2 separate regions of the Homo sapiens genome follow, and region 1 is linked to region 2. Evidence: promoter capture Hi-C in human tissues and cell types (Jung and others, 2019). All regions are on one chromosome and are shown on one strand. Each heading gives the region's core, a stretch centred on a gene start or on the middle of the fragment in contact. The rest is flanking DNA. Distances are from core to core; before and after follow the strand shown. Region 1 holds the start of ATP2A1 (ATPase sarcoplasmic/endoplasmic reticulum Ca2+ transporting 1). Region 2 holds the start of PAGR1 (PAXIP1 associated glutamate rich protein 1).

What was found. The method cuts DNA at HindIII sites, captures the fragments that hold promoters and counts their contacts. A contact is called where the count stands out against the background at its distance.
Region 1: the fragment with the promoter of ATP2A1 here is called in contact with the fragment with the promoter of PAGR1 in region 2 in 1 of the 25 tissues and cell types used here (dorsolateral prefrontal cortex).

The regions. Positions count from the first base shown.
Region 1 is chr16:28,875,985-28,882,414 of GRCh38, reverse strand. It overlaps ATP2A1 (ATPase sarcoplasmic/endoplasmic reticulum Ca2+ transporting 1), which reads right to left and starts at 3,927. Exons shown (of 23, transcript NM_004320.6): 1 at 3,626-3,927; 2 at 3,299-3,316; 3 at 2,832-2,914; 4 at 1,396-1,500. The coding sequence starts at 3,743. ATP2A1-AS1 (ATP2A1 antisense RNA 1) reads left to right here and starts at 2,494. Exons shown (of 2, transcript NR_046290.1): 1 at 2,494-2,873; 2 at 3,311-3,458. RefSeq lists silencers at 2,278-2,627, 2,648-2,697 and enhancers at 2,768-3,541, 4,787-4,876, 4,887-4,956. The HindIII fragment of the contact is 3,605 bases long and covers 1,052-4,656 here.
Region 2 is chr16:29,814,899-29,820,943 of GRCh38, reverse strand. It overlaps PAGR1 (PAXIP1 associated glutamate rich protein 1), which reads right to left and starts at 4,792. Exons shown (of 3, transcript NM_024516.4): 1 at 3,937-4,792; 2 at 3,652-3,734; 3 at 1-1,389. The coding sequence starts at 4,418. The coding sequence ends at 1,190. It overlaps PRRT2 (proline rich transmembrane protein 2), which reads right to left. Exons shown (of 4, transcript NM_145239.3): 4 at 5,063-6,045. MVP-DT (MVP divergent transcript) reads left to right here and starts at 577. Exons shown (of 4, transcript NR_186424.1): 1 at 577-760; 2 at 1,343-1,404. MVP (major vault protein) reads right to left here and starts at 482. Exons shown (of 15, transcript NM_005115.5): 1 at 434-482. RefSeq lists enhancers at 1-48, 1-77, 4,841-5,090, 5,341-5,560, 5,453-6,045 and 1 more and a silencer at 4,481-4,650. The HindIII fragment of the contact is 8,731 bases long and covers 1-6,045 here.

The sequences.
Region 1 (6,430 bases), core at 2,678-5,177, 940 kb after region 2:
AGGAGGCAGAGTTATGGAGTTGTGGCTCCTGGCACGGGGGAGGCAACAAAACCCCACACAGGCAGGGGTGTGTGTATGTTGAGGAAACTGTCACCTACAGGTGAAAACAGGTGAGAGGGTTTTGGGGAGGGAACAAAGAAGAATCAAAGAAAATCAGGCCGGGCATGGTGACTCACGCCTGTAATCCCAGCACTCTGGGAGGCTGAGGCAGGCGGATCACTTGAAGTCAGGAGTTCGAGACCAGCCTGGACAACATGGTGAAACCCCGTCCGTCTCTACGAAAAGTACAAAAAAAAAAAAAAAAAAAAAAAAAAGCCGGGCGTAGTAGCACGCGCCTGTAATCCCAGCTACTTGGGAGGCTGAGGCACGAGAATCACCAGAACCTGGAGGCAGAGATTGCAGTGAGATGAGATTACGCCACTGCACTCCAGCCTGGGCAAGAGAACGAGACCCTGTCTCAAAAAGAAAAATCTAAATAAAAAATCAAAGAAAATCAGAGGCTGCCCTGCAGATGCTGTCCTGGACCTGTCAGCACCACAGACACAGGTGGCTCTGCTGCGCCTGTAACACTGGGGCAAAGAGAAAGTGCTATTTCTCTCTTTTTTTTTTTTTTGAGACTGGGTCTCACTCTGTTGCCCATGCTGGAGTGCAATTGTGCAATCTTGGCTCACTGCAACCTCCGCCTCCCCATTCAAGTGATTCTCCTGCCTCAGCCTCCTGAGTAGCTGGGATTACAGGCACCTGCCACCATGCCCAGCTAATTTTTTTGTATTTTTAGTAGAGATGGGGTTTTACCATGTTGGCCAGGCTACTCTTGAACTCCTGACCTCAACTGATCCACCCGCCTCGGCCTCCCAAAGTATGAAAGTGGCTATTTCTATCCTCAGTGTTCAGAAACCAGTGAGCACCAAAAAATGGCTTATAGCCTGACATTTCTTAAAACCAAAGCAAGGTAGCATTTGGGTTTTCACTTTGGAAATGACCTAAAAACAAAACAAAACAAAACAAACCAGGAAGCAGAGGACAGGACATGTAGGGGGTGGTCAGGTCAGTGGAAGAAGGAAATCAAGCTAGCGTCTATTGAATTCCTACTGTGTGCCAGGAACATGCATCATCTTAGTCGATTTCACACTGGATTGCTAGCCCCATTTTATGGATGAAGAAACTGAGGCTCAGAGGGATGAAGGAACTTGCTCAGGGTCACATAGCCAGGAAGTGACAGTGGGTCACAGTCTCCCACCTCTTCCCCACACTCCATCCCATTCCAGACCAGGGGATAGGACCAGAGGAAGAGGCAAGTATGGGGGAGGTGATGGAGGAGGAGGAGACTGGAGGGAGGGTTGGCCTCTTCTTCACTGTTGGGACATGAAGGGGTAAGGAAGGGTCAACGCTAACCTGCCAAACCCCCACGATGGCATTGGCAATGAGGATCAAGAGGATGACAAAGGGTTCAACAAAGGCAGTGATGGTCTCTTCACCTTCCTCAAACCAGGCCAGCACCTGGGGAGCAGGGGAAAGGAGAATGACAGGTAATGAGGCCCCAAAACAGATGGAGAAAGGAAGTGGACCACTGCAAAGGGGAGAACTGTGCAGGAGAGTGCAGGAGCCAGCAGGAGGGCCGGGCACCGTCGGGGCGCTGTGGCCCCACATCCGTCTGAGGGTCTGTCCATCCACTGCAGGTCCTGCCACCGCCTTACTCAGCGGGATGGGCGCGCACAGACTTGCACCACTTGGGGGATTAGCTGGGAATGCTTTCAGGTTTCCCTGACCAAGCTGCTGGCTTAGAAGCGAAGCTCAGGCCAACCCCCCGCACAGCCACATCCATCCCACGGGAGCCAAAACCCGAGAGGAAAAACCCTGTGGTCTTCGCAGGCGGTCTGGCCCCCGCAGCCCTCCCCCTCGGCCAAGGCAGGGAAGCTCCGGTTTCACGAGGGAGCCGGAGCGGGGATAGGGTTACGGGGCCTCCTGCGCGCGCCCCGCCCCAGCTGTTGCCACCGCCAGGCAGCAGGCAAATGTCAAGGAGCAAATCTGAGAAGGGAGAGGAGAGGCCCTGCCAGCTTGTGCTTAACGCGACGGGGCCTGCGTTCGGAGACCAAGGCACAGGGAGGCTTTCGTTGCCTCCAGAGTCCCCAGCGAGGCTCACATGCTGCGGAAGAACCCGCGACATGCAGATGGACCGCGGGATGGGGAGTAGCCCCCAGGGCGGGAGAGGAGGCAGAGCCCTGGAGATGCCCTGCGGGGGTGGGGGTGCCTAGGGAGCGCGGGGAAGGGCTAAGGCCAGGCTGGGCGGGTAATGAGGGATGCCAGTGCCCTCCCTGACCGGGCGCCGGGCTCCTTGGAGTCATCATCACACCGCCGCGCTTTCCCGCCACTAGGAGCGAGTCCTCCCCTCGACCAATCAGCGTCAGGAGGCTGGGGAGGGCGGGGCAGGGGCGCCGACGGGCGCGGGGATTGGTGGAGCGGCCGTCCGCCCGGCGCATGCCGGGAGTGGCAGTGGCCCCCCGCGCCGCAGCCGGCATCGCGGCGGGACCCGGAGCCCGGAGTTCGGGTGGGTAACCCGAGCTCTCCAAGCTCTTGAAGCCGCGAGGGTGGCTTAGCTTCGGTGTTTTGGCTGAGAACACCCTTAAAGCTTAAAATAAAACCTGCCTCTGGGGTGCAGGGGAGGAGAGAGGAGGACGCGAATCACACCCGCTGCTGCGCGCCAGCCCGCCCCGTCTGTACAATGGGATGCTCGGGACTCGGACGGGAGGATCCAGTGACTGCGAGCCCCGCATTCGCCCGATCCCAGCCTCACACCCCCAGCCAGCCCCCAGAGACCCTCCCACACTTACGAAGGAAATGCATGCGGCCAGGAGGAGAATCCGCACCAGGAGGTCTTCAAACTGCTCTATCACCAGCTCCCACAGGGTCTTCCCTGGGGGAGGAGGCAAGGGGAGGGCCCCGGGTTAAGGTCTAGTGGGTGAAGGTCTGGGATGGAGCGCCCTGGACTCCGGCCTGCAGTGGGGAGGCTCTAGGGTGGTGGGCAGACAGCTTGGTGCCCAGAGAAGGGCTAAGAAGCTCGCCTGGAGTCCAGAAACAGACTCGGCAAAGTGGGGGGCAGTTCAAGGGTTGGCTGCTTCAAGGAGAAAGCGCCTGGGAGACTTCTGCCCCGGACAGGACTCTAACCTTTAGGGAGGGAGATTTGCCTTTTGGGAAGGGATATTTGCTCAAAGAATCTAAAGAGGCAGGGAGGAGGGAGTGGGACAGGGCGGGGTGGGGGGTGGTCATTTATGAGAGTTCAGGGATTCCAGTAACTTACCTTCCTCAGCAGGGAGCTCTACCCAGGAAAAAGAAGAAAAGGACAGATTCATTTGGGGTTCAGCCTCATGCCCCCCACACCCAAGACTTTGTGGCTAAGAGAATCAGGCCACCTTGAGGTTCATCAAGTTCATCCCATTAAAACCTCCCAAAACTCTGGATCTCGGGACTCTGTTTTCTCAGTATCTTCTTCCCCCTGCGAGCATTGGACAACGGCCCAGCTCTTCCTTAAGAAACCCTGAAGGGAGAAACGCGTGCATGCGTGTGCGTGTGTTTTGGGGGTGCAGGAGGGCATTAATTACCAGCCGCTCTTCCAAGGGACACTTACCATTGAGGCCGTATTTCTCCAGATTCCGCTTAACTTGGTCCGGGGTGAGGCCCGTGGTCTCACTCACCCCAAAATAGGCCAAACATTCCTCCGTGGTTTTAGCATGAGCGGCCTCCATTGTGCTCCCTTCCTGGGGGCCGGGGCCGGTGTGTTCCTTCCAGGGGGTTCCCACTCGTGGGGGGTCTTCCTCAGTGTGTCCAACTGCCTGTCTGCCTGGGTTTCTTCTTTTTACTCTCCTGCCCCCTCCAGGTTTTTCTTCCCTCCACAAAGCTCTGACCCCCGTCCCACTTGAGCAGCCGGCCACCCCCCGGCCCCCAGCTGGTCCTTATGAGGGAGCAGGGGGAGGCCGGGCTCCCCCCTCCACCAGATCAGGGATTGGCTGGCTGAGACTCCAGCAGGAGGTGGTCAGAAAAGAGAGATATTTCTGCTGACAGAGGGGGAACAGTGGGGCTGCAGCCTGAGATGTCACTCATGAGGGACGCAAAGGTAGCCCCAGCCCCAGGGAAGTGGGGTAGGGAGAGACTTCACTTTCTGTCATCTGCTACTGACCCTGCCCCCCCATTGCCTCGACTTCCCCAGCTGCATTGAATTTCCCATTCCAAACTCATCCCCCCAGTTCTTCCCGGAGCCCTCTTCCATCCCCGGCCTCACCTGTCCCTTTCCTCACACCCCCCTTCCTGCCTCATCTGCCCGGAGCCTGTTTCCATTGCCGCAGTCTCCTTCCTCCTCACCCCATTTGCTGAAGCAGTGGCAGAGATACCCCAAGCCTTTGGGGGACTGATGAAGGGAGAACATCTTTTGGGGGCTAGAGGAAGTGAGTGGCTCCTAGAGGGACAAGGGGAAGTGAGGGGAGAGAGTCAAGGGGACAGGGCCGAAGATGGTAACCCTACCCTAGGGAGGGGTTGCCACAGCCATCAACAAGGGATTTAGTGTCCAGGCCCTGGTGAGCAAAGCCAGCACTGCCTGTCTCTCCCCAAAACTGCCCCCCCCCTTCCCCATCGCTCTAACTCAGCCTCTGGGAACAGAGCCCTGAGGGCCCCCCCATCCTGGATAGGGAATCCCCACCCCACCCCCAAGAAAATGGGACACCAAGGCAGCCAAGTAACCCAAGAGGCTACAGAATGTGCTGATGGCAGAGGGGGAGGGGTAACTGTCTCAGGATGGGGGCAGGGGTCACCCCAAGTCGTGCACTGAGGGTCACCTCATCCCACACTGTGCTCTAACCAACGGGGTTTCTGTGGCCAGCCCCAGAGGCCTGTGGTCTGCGCTGCACTCTGCCCTGCTGCATCTGTCCACGAGGGGAACAGGATCAGGCCCATGCTGTGTGCGTGCAGGAGCTAGGCAGACCCCACAGAAAGGTGTCGGGGCCTGGGGAAGCTGGACCAAGCAGGGGCTCCAGACCAAAGGAATGGGGAAGGGTGGACTTCTGGGGACAGGTCTGGGGGAAATAAGGACAGATGTCTAGACCTAGGGGGAAAGGGAGCAGAGACACAGAGCCACCAGGGTCAGAGGGAAGTCCGAGCAGCAGTGGGGAAGAGGGACAGCAGGGAGCCAGGTGGGCGGGGACCCCGGCGCTGGGTGCAAAGCCACAAGTTGTTGCTGAATGCTGGCCTTGGTGTCAGCTTCCTCAGAGAAGCAGCTGCTCTGAGCTGCCCCTCCCCACCCCTGCTCCAGGATGGGGGCGTCTCTTGGTTACCACCAGGGCAGCTGCTGGAGGAGCCGAGGGAGGGTACCAGGGGTGCAGGAAGGGGAGGACAGGCAGGCAGAAAGGCTGGATGAGAGTCAGGGTGAAAGGTCAGTGAGGGGAAGGGGCCTGGTGCCCTGGGCTCAAGTCCGTCCTCTGTCTAGGCCTGTTTCCTGAAATGAGCAGAGGCATGTGGACTTCCTAAGTGTGGCTTCTTAAGGCTGCTTTCCATTCTGGGGCTCAAACTCCGAAGCAGAGGACAGAATAGGAGACAGCAGAGCAAAGAAAAGGGAGGCCCCCACTTTTGGGGAGGGGGATGGCAGCAGGGGTGGATGGAACTTGAGGGTTCAGCCTCCCAGATGCATCCCTTCTGCCTGGACTTGGGTGAGGCGCGGCCTCCTGGGTGAGTTGAGGACAAGGTGCTCCTTCCTGCCTCCTTTTCACAGTTCCAACAAACCCCTCCCCTGAAGCAGAATCCTGCTGTGACCTGAGGGGAGTGGGGGACAGTGGGCTGAATTGGGGGTGCAGGAGAGCATTAGCAGCCTCTCTTCCAAGAGACACAGCCCCCGGCACCTCCACCCGGCCCAGCACCCACCGTCTCCGCTGGACTCAGGCTCACACCCGCCAAGGCTTTTGGCGCTGGCCGGCGTCTCCCCACCGGCACCTGGAGGAGTGACAGGGGCTACTGTCTTACAGCAGTGGGAATGCCCAAACATGGAGAGGGGCAGACGGAGAGATGGGCAGCTTCGAGGGAGTCGAGAGCCTGAGACAGAGGGCAGGGGGCAGGCTTGGCAGCACATTCCTGCCAACAGGCCTTTAAGGTTATTCATTTCTACCTCCCCCGGCTTCCCAGAGGGGGAAACAAGCCAGGGAGGGAAAGCCACCCGCCAGGAGCTGCAGAAGGGCTGCTCTAGGGAAGGCTGTGGGTGTGAACTGCCATGGAGGGAGGCTGAGCCAGAGGCGCCCTCGGGGATCCCTTCCCACAGGGGTCTCCACGCCCAGGGATGGAAAGTGATCCTCCTGTCACACCTGAGGGCTGGAGCTAAAAGCATGGGACACAGAGACACCCTGGCCAGTCCCTGATGAGTGCAGAACTTCGGTTTAACCATCTGTAAAGAAAG
Region 2 (6,045 bases), core at 3,543-6,042:
GGGTACAGGTCACATTCTTGGAGCTCAAGGTGACAGGCCAGAGCCCAGGTCCCCAGGACAGTGCAGGTGAGTAGAGCAAGCACCGATCTAGGGCTAAGATGGGGTCTGAATGACCCTGTAAGGTTCCCCACCTGATTTCCCAGGTGGGACCCTGAAGTCAGAGAGAGGCCTGAGAGTTGCAGGGGGGTGGGGGACCGGTGTTGGTGTTAATCTGCCTTTACTTCAAAACCCAGAAGACTCCCAACTATTGGAAAGTGAAACCTCCAAAAGCAAAGCCACCACCCATCCTCCTTCCCCACTCTGATTCAGACATGTTTTCCCTGCCCCAGCAGAAGCAAGGCCCTTCAAAGCAAGACAGGACTAAAGAGAGCCTCAAGGGATACAAAGATCTGCCCCTGATTTGGGGTTTGGGGGGCTAGTACAATGTACTCACATCTAGAAGTGCAGGTAGCTGCAACAAACGCCTCAGATGGGGAACTCTCACCCTGCCTTGGGGATCACTTCCCGGCAGGGCAAGGCAGGCCAAGCCCAGGGGTGGGGCTTGGGAGTTAAAGGGCCCGTGTGCAGCTGGTTCTCATTTTATCCTCCGGGCTGCTTCTGCTGCAGCTGAAGGCACACTGCTCCCTGAGTGCTCATGGGTTTCTACCTTGGAGCCAGCTGGCTGCACTGGAGTGGGACTGGGAGGAGTTGGAGGGCCCGAGATGGGACAGGTGCTAACTGAGGGCACCTCTACCCATCTGGCTTTCATTTTCCAATCTGGGTGAGTACAATTCTGCCTCTCCCTTCAAGTGGGGCCTAACTGTTGAGCTACAGCTACAGCCCCTCCTTTTAAGAGATGATAGCTCTGCATCTTTTATTTCAGACTCAGAAAATTCAGTCCAGGTCTCTGAATAGGTGTTCAATAGAAAACACACACTCACACACTCTCTCTATATAGATGTTCAATAGAAAACACACACACTCTCTCTATAGGTGTTCAATAGAAAACACACACACACACTCTACAGGTGTTCAATAGAAAAAACACACACACACACTCACACTCTCTCTTCCTCTTTCCCGCAACGTGCTGTTTGGGAGCTTGAGGTTTCTCTCTTCTTCCCAAGTTTCTCAATGTCTGGGCTGGGGAAGGAGGGCCCAGGCTCCAGCAGGTACGGACACTGCACCCTAGAGGCAGGAGCAGTGGGAATCAGTATTTCCGCTGCCGAGGGAAGAGACTACTCCCGGAGGATCGGAGTGGGGGGCTGGCGGGGCTGGGGTCCTCCGAGTCCAGGCTGAAGAGGTCCCTCCCGGTACGAAGGATCTGCTCCTCCAGCTTCTTGTGTCTCTTCATGTCCGACAGCACCTTGTCCAGGCGGGCCTCCCGTTTCTGGCTCCGGGCTGAGCTTCCTGGAGAAGAGGAAGGTAAGATACATGGAAGGGATGGAGGTGGTGTACACCATACCTGCCTGGACCTCACTCATCACTTGGGGAGCTGGTTAAACATGCAGGTCCCCAGGCCTCTGTCTTGGAGGACCTGAGGTTCAGGGTTGGACCTCAGAGAGGGTGAGAAGCAAAGATCTTGATTGACAGGAAGGCACAGGTAATGTGAAGAACAGGGAGGAACATACTGGGCAGGGGAATGGCAAGGGTAGAGGCCCCAGGACAAGAACAGAGTTCTGTTCAAAGAAGAGTGCAGGCCGGGCATGGTGGTTCACGCTTGTAATGCCAGCACTTTGGGAGGCTGAGGTGGGCAACTCACGAGGTCAGGAGTTTGAGACCAGCCTGGCCAACACAAAAAATTAGCTGGGCGTGGTGGTGGGCGCCTGTAATCCCAGCTACTTGGGAGGCTGAGGCAGAAGAATCGCTTGAACCCGGGAGGTGGAGGTTGCAATGAGCCAAGATCGCACTACTGCACTCCAGCCTCGGTGACACAGCTACACTCCGTCTCCCCTACTCGCCAAAAACAAAAACAAAAAAAAGAGTGCAGAGAACTGGAGGTGGCGGGAAAAGCGCTTGGATTCTCCTTTGACATGCTCTTCCCTGGCAAGATGGAATCCCTTGGAAAATTTTAAGTGGAAAAGTGACACGATTTATGGCTGAGTGCAGCAGCTCACGCCTGTAATTCCAGCACTTTGGGAAGCTGAGGCAGGCACTTTGGGAAGCTTTAGGTCAGGAGTTCAAGACCAGCCTCGCCAACATGGCGAAACCCCCTCTCTACTAGAAAATACAAAAATTAGCTAGGCGTGGTGACGTGTCCTTGTAATCCCAGCTACTCAGGAGACTGAGGTAGGAGAATCGCTTCAACCCAGGAGGTGGAGATTGCAGTGAGCCAAGATCATGCCACTGCACTCCAGCCTGAGCAAGAGAAAGACTTCGTCTCAAAGAAAAAAAAAGTGATATGATTTATGTTTTAAAAGGTTCATCTGAATTGCAGAAGCTGGAAGCAGAGAGCCCAGTTAGGAGCTACTACAACTATCCAGGCAAGAAAGACAGTGGCTTGGATGGGGATGTGGTATTGAAAGTGGAGACTAGCAGAGGTACTTGGAAATGTACATCTTATAGCTACCAAGACTTGCTGCTGGTGTGAATGTTCAGGTAAAAGAGAGAGAAATCAAGAATGGCTCTAGGCTGGGTGCAGTGACTCATGCCTGTAATCTCAGCACTTTGAGAACCGAGGCGGATGGATCACTTGAGCTCAAGAGTTCGAGACCAACCAGTCTGGGCAACACAGCAAGACTCTGTCTCTCCACCCCTCAAAAAAAAGAAAAAAGGAAAGGCATGACTCTGAGGGTAAATTCTAGGAAGGCATGTGGGGTGGGAAATGGGGCCAGCGGTGTGATTAAAGAATGTACATGGTAGTAGAGGGATGCAGATCTAGATAATATTGAAAGGCCAGGACTTGGACTTCTGGGAATGGGAAACATGATAGAATTATCTGTAATTTTCCAGAATCAATGACTAGTTGTTTTTTTAAAAAAAGAATTATCTGTAATTGTGTTTTTTGAGACGGAGTCTCACTCTCTCGCCCAGGCTGGAGTGCAGTGGTGTGATCTCAGGTCACTGCAACCTCCACCTCCCAGGCTCAAGCGATTCTCCTGCCTCAGCCTCCTGAGTAGCTGGGACTACAGGTGCCCGCCACTATGCCCGGCTAATTTTTTGTATTATAATTGTCTCTTAAAGGAAGACAAGGGGCCAGGCGCATTGGCTCATGCCTGCAATCCTAGCACTTTGGGAGGCTGAGGTGGGCGGATCACAAGGTCAGGAATTCAAGACCAGCCTGGCCAACATGGTGAAAGCCTGTCTCTACTAAAAATACAAAAATTGGCCCAGAGTGGTGGCATGCGTCTGTAATCCCAGCTACTTGGGAGGCTGAGGCAGGAGAATTGCTTGAACCCAGGAGGCGGAGGTTGCAGTGAGTTGAGATCGTGCCATTGCACTCCAGCCTGGGGGACAAGGGCAAGACTCCATCTCAAAAAAAAAAAAAAAAAAAAAAGGAAGACAAGGTAGTAATCTAAGTCATAAAGATGGTGCTACTGGGTGAATACTCTCTCCTGCAGCTGTAAGTTGTGTGGGAGCTGAGGCAGCAAGCAAAGGCCTCTAGGGGAGCCGATCTTGGGTAACTGAGCCGAGGCCCTTCACCTCCCCCAACTGTTTCCTCTTCGTTTGTACCTGGGGTGCGTCTCCGGTCAATCAGGGAGTCCTTTGGTGTCACTGGCTCATCATCAAAATCAAATTCCGTGGGCATGTGTGGTCTGGGACAGGTGAACATAGTTAAGGGTGAGGGCGGTCCTCCCTCCCACCCACACGTGTGCTTCTCCCCTGCCCGTTCCTCCTCCCCCGCTGGCTTCCCTCCCTCCACTTTCAAAGGTTCCAGCGTCCCACATTTTCCCCTCCCTATTTCCTCCCGCCATCAGGGGAGCAGCCCCGGGACAAGGTGTAAGGGTGTGCCTTTACTTTTCCTCTTCCTCTTCTTTGGCCTCCGGCTCCTCATCGGATCTCTCCTCTTCGCTCTGGGCCTCCGGCGTGGGAGGCCGGCGGGGCAGGATCTCGGCTTGCAGCTCCAGAGTACCGTGGGCAGCCAGCAGTTCATAGAGCCGCTGGATTTCGGAGGGCGGGGGCATCCAGGGCTGCCCATCCGCAGGCAGCTCCACCTCCTCGTCGCTGCAGGGCACGCACCAGTCCTCGGAGTCCTCCTCGGCAGGCTCTTCTCCCCCAGCGCTGGGGACTTCTCCCTGCGCCTCCTCGCCCCCGGACCCCTCACGCTCGGTCTCCTCTCGGCCTCCTTCCCCCTCGTCCTCGGCCTTACCGGCCGAGGCAGAGGGGCCTCCGGTATCCTCCACGGCCAGAGCCTGGAGGCCGGAGGTCACTTCCCCTTCTTCAGACAGAGGCGCCGCCGTACTGGCCGCAGTGTCTCCATGGCCCCGAGCAAGGGACATAGGCCACTAGGGCAGGGACCCTGCGACGACAGATACTGGAGTCCGAAGCCAGGGTCCCCCAGGGATCGGGCTCCCCTGGGGGTTCGGGACCGTTTCCAGCCAATCACGCTCCCGCAGGGGACTCCGCGGCCAGACCGCCCGTCCCCGGGAGGGGGCGCTCAGTCCCCACCAAGGACCCCGCCCCGGAGATCGAGGTTCGGTACTCCGAGGCTCCCGGGCCCCGCAGAAACCACTTTCCGAAAGAGGGAAAGGGGGAGGAGAGGGACGGGCCACTCTTCTCGCTTCCACGACGCCCCTCTCCACACCCGGACACGGCGCCTTCTCCCCAGACCTTTCAGTTGTGGGCCACGTCAAGTCAGATGCCGTACGCACCTGGAGCTAAGACCCGCCTCCCAGGCTGCGCAGGGTCACGCTACGCAGGCGCACAGAAATGGCGCGGGAGGCTCCGCTCTAGGCAAGGCTACTTGGAAGAGGAAAGCGAGGGAAGGCTTGCACATGCGCGAGTAAGCGCACAGGCTTCAGCCCACAGTAAAGATGGCCACCGGGAAGTCGCATGCGTATACCACCCAGTAAGGTTCTGCCAGAAAGGCAGCACCGCCGGGCCGGCGGGACGAACGCAGGAACCAACCGAGATTGGAGGCGAGTCTCATGCAGTCTCCGTTTATTGGTGTTTCAGACTCATGCAGCATCCGGCATACAAAAAGGGAGAAATCAGTTTGATAATAGCCTTTTTTTTTTTTTTTTAAGAATTTTAGTTTTTTTCTTCCCCCAGACTTTTTTTTTTTTTTTTTTTTTTTTTTTAAGGAAAAAAACCCCCGCCAAATCCGAACCGCGTTGTAGCTCGGTCCCCGCCTCCTCAGCGGGCTGTCGCGTGCAACAAACCTCCCCCATCATCTTAGAAAATAATTATAGAGCGCGGCGCCCCGCCCTCGCTCCTGCCAGTGGGCGCTTTGGTCCTATTTTTTGGATTATTTCATTACGAAGCACGTGAATGAATCTAGCCCCCACACCTTCAAGAAAGAAACTCGCGGACTGGGGTTGAAAAGCCCAGGTGGGCGGGTCAACTCCAGCTGACCTGGAAGGGTCAGCGCCGCGTCCCTCCCTTCTCCCCTGCGTGCGTTCGGAACCAGTACTCGCCACCCTCACCCGAGTCCCCATACGAGGCCCGGCTTGCCAACTCTGCGACCTGCCAGGCACCCTTGGGTGTCCGACCCTGGGTGGTCCCAGCAGAGAACAGTCCGAGCCTGGGGTTGGGGAGCCCTCTCCCAACACTGCTCCCTGCCCCCAAGCCTCGTCTAAGTGCTGTCAATTTTGCAGAGTAAACGGTGACGGGAGGTTGGAGAAGAGGATGCTTAAGGGAGATGAGGAGGCAGGAAGAGGAAGGGGGCGGGACGTGGAGAGGAAAGGGGAGATGATAAAGAAGGGAAGGAAGAGAGGACTGAGGGTTGAGAGATGCCAAGACAATGAAAGTTGGGAGGAGGCGGCCAGGGTGGAGGTCCAGAGAATTTGGGGGGCTGGAAGAAGTGCAGGGAGGCCAGGAGAGATGCAGGGAGGCTGAGAGCGCAGAGTTGGGGAGGTGTTCAGGGAGGTTTCCAGAGTGCAGGGAGGTTTCCAGAAGTGCAGGGAT